2 separate regions of the Homo sapiens genome follow, and region 1 is linked to region 2. Evidence: promoter capture Hi-C in human tissues and cell types (Jung and others, 2019). All regions are on one chromosome and are shown on one strand. The core of a region is centred on a gene start or on the middle of the fragment in contact, and the rest is flanking DNA. Distances in the headings are between cores, read along the strand shown. Region 1 overlaps RHBDL3 (rhomboid like 3). Region 2 holds the start of RHOT1 (ras homolog family member T1).

Region 1 (6,393 bases), core at 149-2,648, 150 kb before region 2:
AGGCTGGAGTGCAGTGGCACAGTCTCGGCTCACTGCAACCTCTGCCTCCTGAGTTCAGGCAAGTCTCATGTCTCAGCCTCCTGAGTAGCTGGGATTACAGGCACCCACCATGATACACGACTAATTTTTGTATTTTTAGTAGAGACGGGGTTTTACCACGTTGCCCAGGCTGGTCTTGAAATCCTGACCTCAATGACCCACCCGCCTCGGCCTCCCAAGGTGCTGGAATTACAGGCGTGAGCCACTGTGCCCGGCCAGGATAGTGTTTTTGCTCATACACTCAAGGTCCTAAATTCTTTTTTTTTTTTCTTTTTTTCTTTTTTGAGACGGAGTCTTGCTCTGTCGCCCAGGCTGGAGTGCAGTGGCACGATCTTGGCTCACTGCAACCTCCGCCTCCCGGGTTCAAGCAATTCTCCTGCCTCAGCCTCCCCAGTAGCTGGGATTACAGGCACCCACCACCATGCCTGGCTAATTTTTATATTTTTAGTAGAGACAGGGTTTCACCATGTTGGCCAGGCTGGTCTTAAATTCCTAACCTCAAGTGATCCGCCCACCTCGGCCTTTGAAAGTGCTGGGATTACAGGTGTGAGCCACCACGTCCGGCCAATCCCCCAAATTCTTGTATTTCTTTTCCTTTTTTTTTTTTTTTTTTCTTGAGACAGGGTCTCGCTCTGTCACTCAGGCTGGAGTGATGTGGCATGGACACAGCTCACTACAGCCTTGACCTCCTGGGCTGAAGCGATCCTCTTGCCACAGCCTCCCACGTAGCTAGGACCACAGGCATGTACCACCATGCCTGGCTAATTTTTTGATATTTTGTAGAGACAGTCTCACTTTTTTGTCCAGACTCATCTTGAATTCCTGGGCTCAAGAGATCCTCCCACCCTGACCTCCCAAAGTGCTGGCATTACAGGTGTGAACCACTGCACTCAGCCAATTCTTTTATTTCTTTAAGATTCAGGTCTGCTTTAAACTTTTCTTTTGTCACTTCCTTCACTGCCAGGCTGTCGGCTGCTGTTTCTTATTGCTTGCTGGTAGTGGACCCCTTTGTTGCTTTACACCATGTCCCTCCTATTTTCTATTCATTATGAAATCCGAAAGCCAGGTTACCAGAACTGTATAGAAGACAAAAGCCTTGGGCATTGTAGCCCCAGGGCTTCGAGATCGTTATTTCAGCTATTTGATCACTTCCCAGTTTCTTCTAGATTGGTGGTTCGGGTTTACATAGCTGAGGTTCATCTGAACCAATCTGGACACAAAATTGCTCCTCTTGATCAACCTGGGCAAACTGAATTCTCTGGCCCTCAGTTTCTTTATCTGGAAATGGGTACCGATACCTAGACTTCCAGAGTGGCCAGGAGGTTTAAAAGTGATAAACTATACACAAAGAGCCAGCCCCCTGCCCGGCACACACTTAGAGAAGGAAGCTATAATTCGTGTTGGGTTAAAATCTTCTGGGCTCAGCCTGGGAATGGCTTAGGCCCCTGGTAGCTGTATTCTCCTGGGCTCTCTGAGGAGCCGTTCTGTCCACCTAATACCATGAGGGTGGCCTGGTAGCAAATCCTGCTTCCAAGGCATCTCGTTATTATTGGGCCTCAAACAGAAGTTAATAAATAGACCAGCACAGTAAGCGCTTGAAGAACGAGTCCAAGAATATCTCAGAAAAATCGCAACTTCAACATGTACTTGGATGAAGCCATAACAACAAACAGGGGAATGCTGGCCTGCAGACCAGATATTCTGACTTAGAAGAAAAGAAGGATGCCGCGAAGCTTTTGATTAGGCAGGAACTTTACAAGAACATATGCAGAGGCGGTAATTAGGCCCGTGGCTTTGGAAGAGAAACAGCGGAGATCATAAAATCCCAAAGTGAAGCCAAGCATCCATTCAGGAGCTGCAGCTGGGGTGGGCTGCACAGGTTGTTGAGTGGAGGACCCAAAAGAATTGAGTTTTATCACACATGGGCACCAACGCAGCAAGGGGTACCTTTGGATTCTGTTGCATAAGCAGTAGAATTTAGCATAACAATAGGCACAGAGGATTCCCTAAGGGGAGAATGTTCTTTAAAAATGTTAAGCCCATATTTACCTGTTCACACTCCCTCCCAGATGTGTTTGTGTGATGCTTTTGTGTTCAGAAAGCACCAGTAGCCATTCTCTCACTTTAAATAAAGGTGTCCTGGGAGAGGGAAGGCAGGTCTGGTTATTTCTGATTTTCAGGCGGGAAAAAGGAGCAAATGACTGGTCCACATTACCCACCTAGGGAGGAACTAAATAAACTGGCTTTAATGAGTTAGCCTGGCTAGATCTCCCAAGTCAATGAACTTATGACATTGTTTTTATTGCTGTTGTTTTGGGGTGGGTGGGGGGTAGTGGTCCTACGGGGATTTGGCTGCAGTAAGTATTGTTTGAAGTAATAATCTTTGGAATATCTCTTTGCAGTCCACGGTTACAACACTGGTATGCACCGCAACAGAGTCTGATTTGCAATACAACTATTATTTGATCCTCAACCATTGCCCTTCAATGGAAAAGAAATGTCCCTCTTCCCCCATGATCTGTGTGTCATCCTCTTGGCTCCTCTCCCCATACCCGCCACTCCCCAAGGCAGAGCAACCCCCTCCCCACCCTTGTCCTTGCCTCCAGCAGCGTGACTGTGATCATGAACCAGGGTGGGGGGCAGCAGGTGTAGCTGTCATAGTACCACTTGCGGTCAATTTCCCGGGGCAGGGTCTCATAGGCCACATGGCGGATAAGTCGCTGCGAGAGGCTCAGCCCCTTCTCCTCCAGCAGGGCCTTGCTGCTTAGCCTGCGGTTGCCCTGCAGGATGGCTTGGCGGAAGCTGTTGGAACGCTTGTTGCTCATCTGTGCAGGAAATGGAGTGGGGAGAGGGTCAGAGCTGGGGCCCAGCGGAGCTCCCCACCCACTTCCCAGCCAGCATGTTCCTTGCACCAGGCCTGACCCCGCATTTCCCTTTCTCCTATAATTGTTAATAAGAAGCAACATTCACCAAGGTCTTGTTAGGTGTCAGGGGTTATTATTCTCAGCCCTTCACGTCTTTTGGCTCATTTGATGATCACCAGTCTTCCCGTTAGATAAGGACTATTAACATCCCCATTCTATTGGATTAGGAAACTGAGACACCGAGAGCTTTAGGAATCCATCAAGTTCACACTCAGTAAGGCTCCAGAGCCCGTATTTGTGTTCACTATACCTTCCTTCATCTACTCACTCATCATCCATCCATCACAATTTACTGAGCAACTACTAAGTGTCAGGCTCATTACCAGGCACAGGGAGGGATACGGTGGTGCTCAAGACAGATTAGTAACCAGCAATCACAGTTCAGAGTGATGGTTGCTGTGGGAGCACACAAGAGGGAGCCCAATCCAGTCCCAGGGAGGTCAGAGGTCAAGGAAGGCTTCCTGGAGTAGGTGAAGTCTGAGTGAGAATCAAAAGATGAGCAGGAGGTAGCACCCTCAGACACGCTAGCTTGGGAAGAGGCAGGCAGCCCTTGGTTAGATGGGTTTGCAGAGAGGCACCCAGAGCCAAAACCCAAGCTGTGCCTGGGGAAGGTCACCACTCCCGAGGGCCTTCACAGGACCTGGAATGCCCAGCAAGCCCAAAGACTGGCTGCAGAGCTCCACCTGGGGACCAGCTCTATCCTCAGCGGCCTGAAGCTTCTCTGACACATACTGGGTAGAGCTCTGGCAGCCTCACCCAGTGGTCAGCCTGACTCGGAGACCAGAGGTGGCCTTGCTGACTCCTGGCCTCCCGAGGCCTCCGTTACCTCCCACCTGCCTTCCACGGCCAACTGTAGACCCTTCTTACGGGGAGAAGTCCTAGAGATATGGCTCTCCCAAGCCCACACCTCAGCTGTCCCTATGTTTGCTGGTGTGGGGATTATCAGTGTATTCCTGGGACTCTAGGCCCAGCAGTAGACATCAGGCTAAACCCGAAGGCAGGAGCCCTGTGGGCTGGTGAGGTAAACCAGGCCAGACCACGGCACAGGGGTTGTAGGCCCTGTCAGAGGGCAGATGGCTGGGGAGGATCTAGGTTCAGACCAGGCCAGGTGGTGTGAACTTCCATCTATAGGGTCCCCCCACCTCACATTCCTGAGCTCTGTTGTCTCATAGTCAAAATCTAGCTTAAAGCTCGCCCCCTCCAGCAGGCCATCCCAGATGAACCTTTTCCAACCATTCTCTATCCCCATTCTCTCCATGCCTACAAAGCTTGGACCTAGTTCTTCTCAATGGCCCAGGAGCTCTGTAAATGTAGGCCAGGGTTAGGCGCCTGGTGCACATTGTGAGCCCAAGACAGGATCACGATGTCAGATTATTTTGTGGCCACTCTCACCTGTCTCTCTCCCAGTCCCTGAGGATGCACCTGCACAGGGGAGTGCACAGCACCCGTGGTGGGAGCTGGCTCAGCAGGGGTACACACTCACCATCCACCTGCGTCCCTCACATGCCCAGTGCTGTGCTGGGCACAGTCCATGACCATGGTCCCAGGCCTCATGGAGCTTACAAGTGGAGACAGAAGTGTAAAAACAGTAAAAAAGGGTGCCATCATAGTTATTTGGCACCCCGTATTATTCCGACATTACAAATATGGGGACTGAAGCTTGGAGAGGGTGAGTAGTTTCCCCGGGTACTCATACTTAGTAAACCACAGAGTCAGGATTCAAATACAGATCTGCCTGACTCCACAGTCCATGCTAGCCCATACAGAGCTGTTGTGCCAATCAGATAAAGGAGCCTCTTCTTCTGGATGGGTGCACCCATGCCAGGCCTTGGTGGGCAAAGTCCGGGCCAGATTTCAGTCTCCATCATCTCTCAGCTAGGCACCATTGTACAGTATACAACCTGCACACTCATACACGACTACCCGGGTTGCTCAGCTGTAATGCAGTGTGGCGGTCTGTACTACGAGAGAGGCCTGGGCAAGGCACTGTGGGAGCTCTGAAAAAGGCTGACTCACTCTGCCTGGCTTGAGCAGATAAAGGCTCACAAAGGATGCAGAGGAGTTTACCTGGTGGAAGAACATTAAGAGACATCAAAAATATTCAAATACTTTTTTTGATCCTTGCAACAACCCTAAAGAGAGGATCCTTTGGATCTATTCTACAAATGGGAAAAGGCAGGCTCAGAGGCTCTTTCCCAGTGAGTGGCAGAGGCAGAGCCAGACCAGGACCCGGGTTTGCTAGACTCCAGGTCCTCAGCTCTCTGCTCTACTCAGAGCTTCCCCTCTGGTGAGTCCCTTTGTCTGCTCTCCAGGGCAGCCCTGCTCATACAGATCCAGTGCAGAATTTGAACAGAGAAATCTCAGAAATCCCAGCAGTAACAAGTAACTTGCTGTCCTGAGCTCACACAGAGGCTCCATTGACCCCTGGCTGGAGAGAAGCCACTCCTGGGCCCCACGTGCCCTAAGACCTAGCAGGGCATCTTGCAGCAAACACACAGGTGCTGGGGCTGTGGCTGTGGATGAGCCTGGGCAGGCTCAAACCTTTGGCCTGGTCTTTGGTGGCACTGCTGGGTTCCAAGTCACAGGACTCACCCTCACTGCCTATCCTATGAATCCTCACTGTCCCCCTCCCCTGCTCAGCTCAGCTCTGTCCCTTGCTCTCCAGGAGGTCTGCTCCCCGGGTCCACTCTGAACAGCAGTCGATTCCTCCACTCCTAAAAACCCCACAGCAGCTCCTTGCAATCACGCCAACCCTTGGACCAAGGCTGGACCTCAGCCAAGAGGCTGTTGAAACATCTCCCCTGCCTGGGCATCCACATCAGAGCGCTCATGTGGCACAATGACAGGCTCCAGTGGTGGCGGCTCCCCCATCACTGGTGCCTTTGAATTTAGGAGTCTGGGGCGCTTCACACAAGTCATTTCACTCTCGCTCCCTCCATGGGTGACATGAAGAGAGGTGACCAGCTCCATCTCACCAATAGGAAAACCCAGCAAAAACTTTGGGTCTTATTTTCAACCTGCTTGTTCACCCCGCTTTTCTACTGATGTCACCTGCATCCCATGGTGGGTGAAATACTGCCTGCTTAACCCCACTGAACCCCAGTCCACAGCAGCCCCTGAAATAGCGCAGCACTAACCCTCAGTGAGGGGAAGTCTCTGCTCCGAGATAACAGACCGCTGGGCAGGATCCATGGGCCTATCTTCTCCAGCCTCTTTGGCAGCCCAGGGCATCGGCTGAGCAGATATGCTGAGCTCTGGCTCTACCACATGCTGCACTGACCCTCCCGGCCCCCACTCCCCAGCCCCTTCTCCTACCACCAATACCCTACCTACTCGCAGCCCTTCATTTTGGCGTAACTGACCCCACTCTCAGCTACAGGAGTGGGGCAATGATTGATTTAACGCAATCTACCCATCCTACTGACCCAAT
Region 2 (5,722 bases), core at 3,089-5,588:
GAGGTTACAGTGAGCCAAGATGGCACCACTGTACTCCAGCCTGGGCGACAGAGCAAGACCCTGTCTCAAAAAAATAATAATAGGCCGGGCGCGGTGGCTCACTCCTGTAATCCCAGCACTTTGGGAGGCCGAGGAAGGCAGATCATGAAGTCAGGAGATCGAGACCATCCTGCCTAACATGGTGAAACCCCATCTCTACTAAAAATACAAAAAAAAAAAAAAAAAAATTAGCCGGGCGTGGTGGTGGGCACCTGTAGTCCCAGCTACTCGGGAGACTGAGGCAGGAGACTGGCCTGAACCTGGGAGGTGGAGCTTGCAGTGAGCCGAGATCGCGCCACTGCACTCCAGCCTGGGCGACAAAGCGAGACTCCATCTCAAAAAAAATAAAATAAAAATAATAATAATAATAATACAGAAAAATGATCAAATTTTTATGACAAAGAGGAGTGGTTTGGAAAACAAGGAAAGTCTAAACAAACTGAACTAGCTTGAACTCATTCATTCTTTTAAGAAATACCTGAGTGCCTCTTTTGTGCCAGGTCTGTTCTAGCCACTGGGGATACAGCAAGAAGGAAGACAAATCCCCTGCCTTCATGATGATTCTTTTCTAGCCCAAGAGACAGGACAAAAAATGTACAAATATACATGGTTATGGGGATAATGCCCAGGTCAGAGCCTTCTTATAGAGAGAGCAATGAAGGAGAGAGTAGCATAAAAGGGAAGTAAGGGCTAGATTGTGGAGGGCCTTACAGGACTGCATTAAAAAGTTTGGACTTTATTCTAAGTGAAAGTAGAAATCACTGGATGATATACATCTATTTTCTGAGACAGATTCTCACCCTGTCAACCAGGCTGGAGTGCAGGGGTGCAGTCATGACCCACAGCAGCCCCGAACTCCTGGGCTCAGGTGATTCTCCCACCTCAGCCTCTCAAGTAGCTGGAACTGCAGGTGCACGCCACTTCACCCAGCTAATTTTTTGTATTTTTTGTAGAGATGAGGGTTCGTCATGTTGCCCAGGCTGGTCTCGAACTCCTGACCTCAAGTGATCCACCTGCCTCGGCCTCCCAAAGTGCTGAGATAATAGGCATGAGCCACCACACCTGGCTCATTAGATGATTTTTAAGGTGCATAGCAGAATCTGAGATATTTTCTAAATATGAATCTGTATATATTCAGGACAGCTTGAATCTATACTTCAGGGTAAAAAAATTAAAAATAAAAAAATAAAAATGAATCTGCCTGCTCCACGGAAAATGGAGGAAAGCAGGAGCAGAAAGACTGGTTAAGGGAGATATTGCAAAAGTCAAGGCCAAAGCCAGTGGAATTTTGAAGTAGTTTGGCAGAGGTTGCCATGATAATCAGAGTTAGACAAACCAGTTAAAGATCTGCCAGATTCATTTTAAAAGAAGATAACAGTTCCATTTTCTTAAGGAACTTAACTAGTAGAAAACAAATATATCTCAATTTAATTTAAAAAGAAGACTCCATTAAAATGAAAACTATCCTGTTTACTATTATCAATATATATATATATTTTTTGAGACAGAGTCTCACTCTGTCCCCCAGGTTGGAATGCAGTGGTGTGATCTCAGCTCACTGCGACCTCCATCTCCTGGGTGAAAGCCATTCTCCTGCCTTAGCCTCCTGAGTAGCTGGGATTACAGGTGCGTGCTGCCACAGCTGACTAATTATTGTATTGTTAGTAGAGACTGGGTTTCGTCATGTTGGTCAGTTTCCTGGTCTCAAACTCCTGACCTCAGGTGATCTGCCCACTTTGGCCTCCCAAAGTGTTGGGGTTACAGGCATGAGCTACTGTGCCCAGCCATTAAAAATTAATTTTTTCTTTAAGAGACAGTCTTGCTCTGTCACCTGGGCTGAAGTGCAGTGGTGTGATCATGGCTCACTGCAACCTCGATTTTCTGGGTTCAAGCAATTCTCTCATCTCAGCCTCCCCAGTAGCTAGGACTACAGGTGCACACCACCATGCCTAGCTAATAGTGTTGTGGTTTTTTTTTTTTGAGGCGGGGTCTCACTATGTTGCCCAGGCTGGTCTCAAACTCCTGCGTTCAAGCAATCCTCCTGCCTCAGCCTCCCAAAGTGCTGGGATTACAGGAGTGAGCCACTGTGCCCAGCCATTAATATTTAAATTTTTTGTAGAGACAGGATCTCACTACATTGCCCAGGTTGGTCTCAAACTCCTTGGCCTCAAGTGATCCTCCTGCCTCAGCCTCCCAGAGTGCTTGGAATACAGGTATAAGCCACCTCACCCAGCTGTGTGGGAGCATTATTAAAGGTTTTTTTTCAGACAGAGTCTTGCTCTGCTGCCCAGGCTGGCATGTCTCAGCTCACTGCAACCTCCTCCTCCAGGGTTCAAGTGATTCTCCTGCTTCAGCCTCCAGAGTAGCTGGGACTACAGGTGTGTGCCACCACACCCGGCTAATTTTCGTATTTTTAGTAGAGACGGGGTTTCACCATGTTGGCCAGGCTCGTCTCGAACTCCTGACCTCAAGTGATCTGCCTGCCTTGGCCTCCCAAAGTGCTGGGATTACAGGCATGAGCCACAGTGCCTGTAATCCCAGGCACTGCACTCCAGCCTCGGTGACAGAGCGAGACTCTGTCTCAAAACAACAACAACAACAAACTATTTCATCATATATTTAAGGATCAGTTTTTTAAGCAAGTCGTCTACTCACTTTCCCTACCTTGCTCCAAAAGCATAAGCATGAATTATATGTTAAATAACACCTTCCTGAACCTTGTCAAGGAAGTCCATGAAAAATACAGATTAAGATATAGTTATAAATAAAAATAAAAATTTACAACTGCAAATCAAAAAGTAAACTATGGCTGGCTAAGCTTACTCCTAAATTCTAATTCTAAAGGAAGATTTCTCCAAACAGCAGGTGGATGAAATTTCAATGAACTCAAAGAACACTACAGAAGAGGGTAAAAACGTGTTAACTTTCTTCCTTGGGATTCCATCACGGTGACCCTGAGGGGTTACCAAGAATGAAATAATGGTTTAAAACAGAATGCTTCGAAACAGCAATGGCAGACTATTAACGAATGTATTAACTCTTTAAAACAAACAATCCAGTTATCCCTGGCCCACTTTCTTATTTTAGTCCTAGCAACTGAGTTACATAACTTGCAGAGTGAAATCAAGAAGTCCCCGCTGTTGCGTCCTCATGTCAGTGAACAGAGGGAACTCTCCTTTATTATATTTTCAAAAGGTGAAATGTATGAAATTTCTGGGTGGGGGGAGATATCAAATGTCTGTGTGCCTGTGGTTATTAATAAGTTAACTACGAAGTAACTATGGAATAAATAATGCTTAAAAAGAGGGCAAAGATTACGCTTTAGGGTAACAACAATTGGACCCTCCCCAGATAATTCTAATTCATTGAGCGCTTGCATAACTCGAAGTTGAGTAAAAATTTTTGATGAAATATCTCGAGTACGAGGAGTTAGTCCAATGCAAAGTACAAGTACTGCTAAAAAGGATCCGGCCCTTTCCACTACTCATATCTTAATGTCAATACATAGAGAGAGTGAAGACTGCGAGTGCCAAAAAAATGCAGAAACCTGACCTTGCCCACAAGTCGAATAGTTCTGCACCCCTCCCCCAGCTTCCCCGGGAGCCGGTTCACGCAATCCCTATTGGTCAGTCTGCTTATTCCAGCACCTGCCTGGCAGTGATAAGGGAATCTCCAGAAGACAAGAAGGTCTGAAAGGAGGCGGCCTGGGAAACTGTGAGGCCCAGAAGGACAGGGTTCGAAGAGGAAAAGGAGGAGAGAAGCTTCGGAGGGATGAGGTCGGGCGGTTAGGGCTAATAGGGACATGGCTTGGGAGGACGGCTGGGGAACAGGGAAAGGAGATCTCTGGAGGGCCCAGGTGAGGTGACAGGGTGAGGGCCGCCGGCGGCCAGCCAAAAGAGAAGAGTGAAGGGGCTGGAAGGCCTAGGAACGCGGAGAAAGGCGAGCGGAGCTGTGAGGCGCGAGAAGGGCCGGGGCTGCAAAGGTTGGGGCTGCAGGGGCGACAGGGGCGACAGGGGCTGCAGGGGCAGGGAGGGCAGGGACTCAGGGGCCGGCCAGAGGGTGCGGACTCACGTTCTCCCACCAGCAGGATCCGCACGTCTTTCTTCATGTCGGCGGCTCTCGGGGGCCGGCCTCCGCCCGCACGCACGGAGTGGACTCCTCTCACCAGGAGCACCCACCCCACGGCGCCACCTGCCAGCCTCTTCGGCCGCCGGGGCCCGCCGCGCCGCCCCCTCAGTTGCTTCCCCGCAAGAGAGCCGGGACAGCGCCAGCTCCGCCTCCTCCGGCCCAGCGGGCTGTGGCGGCGGCGGCGGCGGCGGCGGCGGCGGCGGCGGCGGCGGCGGCGGCGGGGACGACGGCACGCGGCGAGGGACACGCGCTTTCGGAACGCGAACGCGCTCTGCGCCGGAACAGCGCTCCCGCTGTCAGGCCGCCGCAGCGCAGGCCCAGGGAGCCTCGCCCACCCTCCTTTGGGCACCGCGACCCCGGAGACACTTGGGCCAGGAATTTGAATGGCGGATTCCCTGGTTTAACCCCGTTTATTTTATAGATAGGGACAGAAATTCCCTGTTCAAAGTCACATAGCTAGAGCTTGGCAGTGACTCAGAGCAGGGATCTTCTCACCAGACCATAAACTCCGGGAGGGCAGCGATCAGCTTGCATGGTTTTCAGCTGCGTCCCCACGTTATTGGATAGGGCCGTCAGAAAATGCTTGATCGAGTAGGGCGACTGGCTCCCAGGATCCGGCGCTTTCCACTCCCCAAAGCCCGTCACCCTAGTTGCTTTTGCCTCTGATGCTTATAAAATACGATTATAAGATTCGTTTTTACGCTGTGTGAACAAGACTCCTTTCTTTATAACCAAACTAAGTGACTTTTTTTCTGTCTATGTAGTTTATTTTATGGCAGGGTTTTCGGACACTCTTCTTTACTCAGGCTTACCCAGCGTAATGCTAGACACGGAGGTGGCACTCGATAATAAACTCTAGATGATTTTTCTAACATTGCCTTAATTTTCTCGTGACCCTCTCCATCTGGAGGAATTTGTTGTTACATGCTTAATGTTTGGTACACAATGGCAAATATATATATATACATACGCGTGCGAATATATATCACATCCCTAATACTTGGCACACAGTGGGAAATATAAAATACATAAATTAATGAGGAAGCACTATCTGTGCATAATGTACATTTTTTCTATCTTAAATATTACACAATAAACACTTAAAGGGAATGAAATGTGCGTAATACCAACTTCCCTTTCTCCTAGGAGAAGTCATGTGGTCTCTTGCAGCAGTTAAGAGTTGCTGGCAAATTTCCTGGGTTTGAATCTAGGCTCCACATAATAGCTCTGTGATCTCGACTAAGTGCTTTTATTTTTACTTCCCTCAGCCACTGTTCCTTCTTCTGTAGCATGGAAATAATGATGATAATACCTTCCTCTTGAGATGGTTGTGAGTAATAAATACTATAATACTTGTCAAGCATTTGGTACAGTGCCAGACTCAGAGCGTGTGCTCTACTGATCTCAGCTATCATTATTATATTAAAAAGTCACTAAAAAGTTGTAATCCACAGATTTTTTGTTTTGTTTTGGTTTTGTTTTGAGACGGAGTCTCGCTCTGTCGCCCAGGCTGGAGTGCAGTGGCGCAATCTCGGCTCACTGCAAGCTCCGCCTC

What was found. The method cuts DNA at HindIII sites, captures the fragments that hold promoters and counts their contacts. A contact is called where the count stands out against the background at its distance.
Region 1: a fragment that was not itself captured here is called in contact with the fragment with the promoter of RHOT1 in region 2 in 1 of the 25 tissues and cell types used here (dorsolateral prefrontal cortex).

Annotation. Positions count from the first base shown.
Region 1 is chr17:32,285,263-32,291,655 of GRCh38, reverse strand. It overlaps RHBDL3 (rhomboid like 3), which reads right to left. Exons shown (of 9, transcript NM_138328.3): 4 at 2,640-2,864. Among named protein-coding and RNA genes, the nearest start is that of RHBDL3, 23 kb to the right of the region's middle. RefSeq lists an enhancer at 1,673-2,320. The HindIII fragment of the contact is 6,058 bases long and covers 1-4,427 here.
Region 2 is chr17:32,141,118-32,146,839 of GRCh38, reverse strand. It overlaps RHOT1 (ras homolog family member T1), which reads right to left and starts at 4,338. Exons shown (of 20, transcript NM_001033566.3): 1 at 4,111-4,338. The coding sequence starts at 4,147. LOC105371730 (a long non-coding RNA gene) reads left to right here and starts at 3,705. Exons shown (of 2, transcript NR_136413.1): 1 at 3,705-3,815; 2 at 4,127-5,614. RefSeq lists silencers at 4,058-4,117, 4,148-4,377 and an enhancer at 4,838-5,007. The HindIII fragment of the contact is 2,047 bases long and covers 3,330-5,376 here.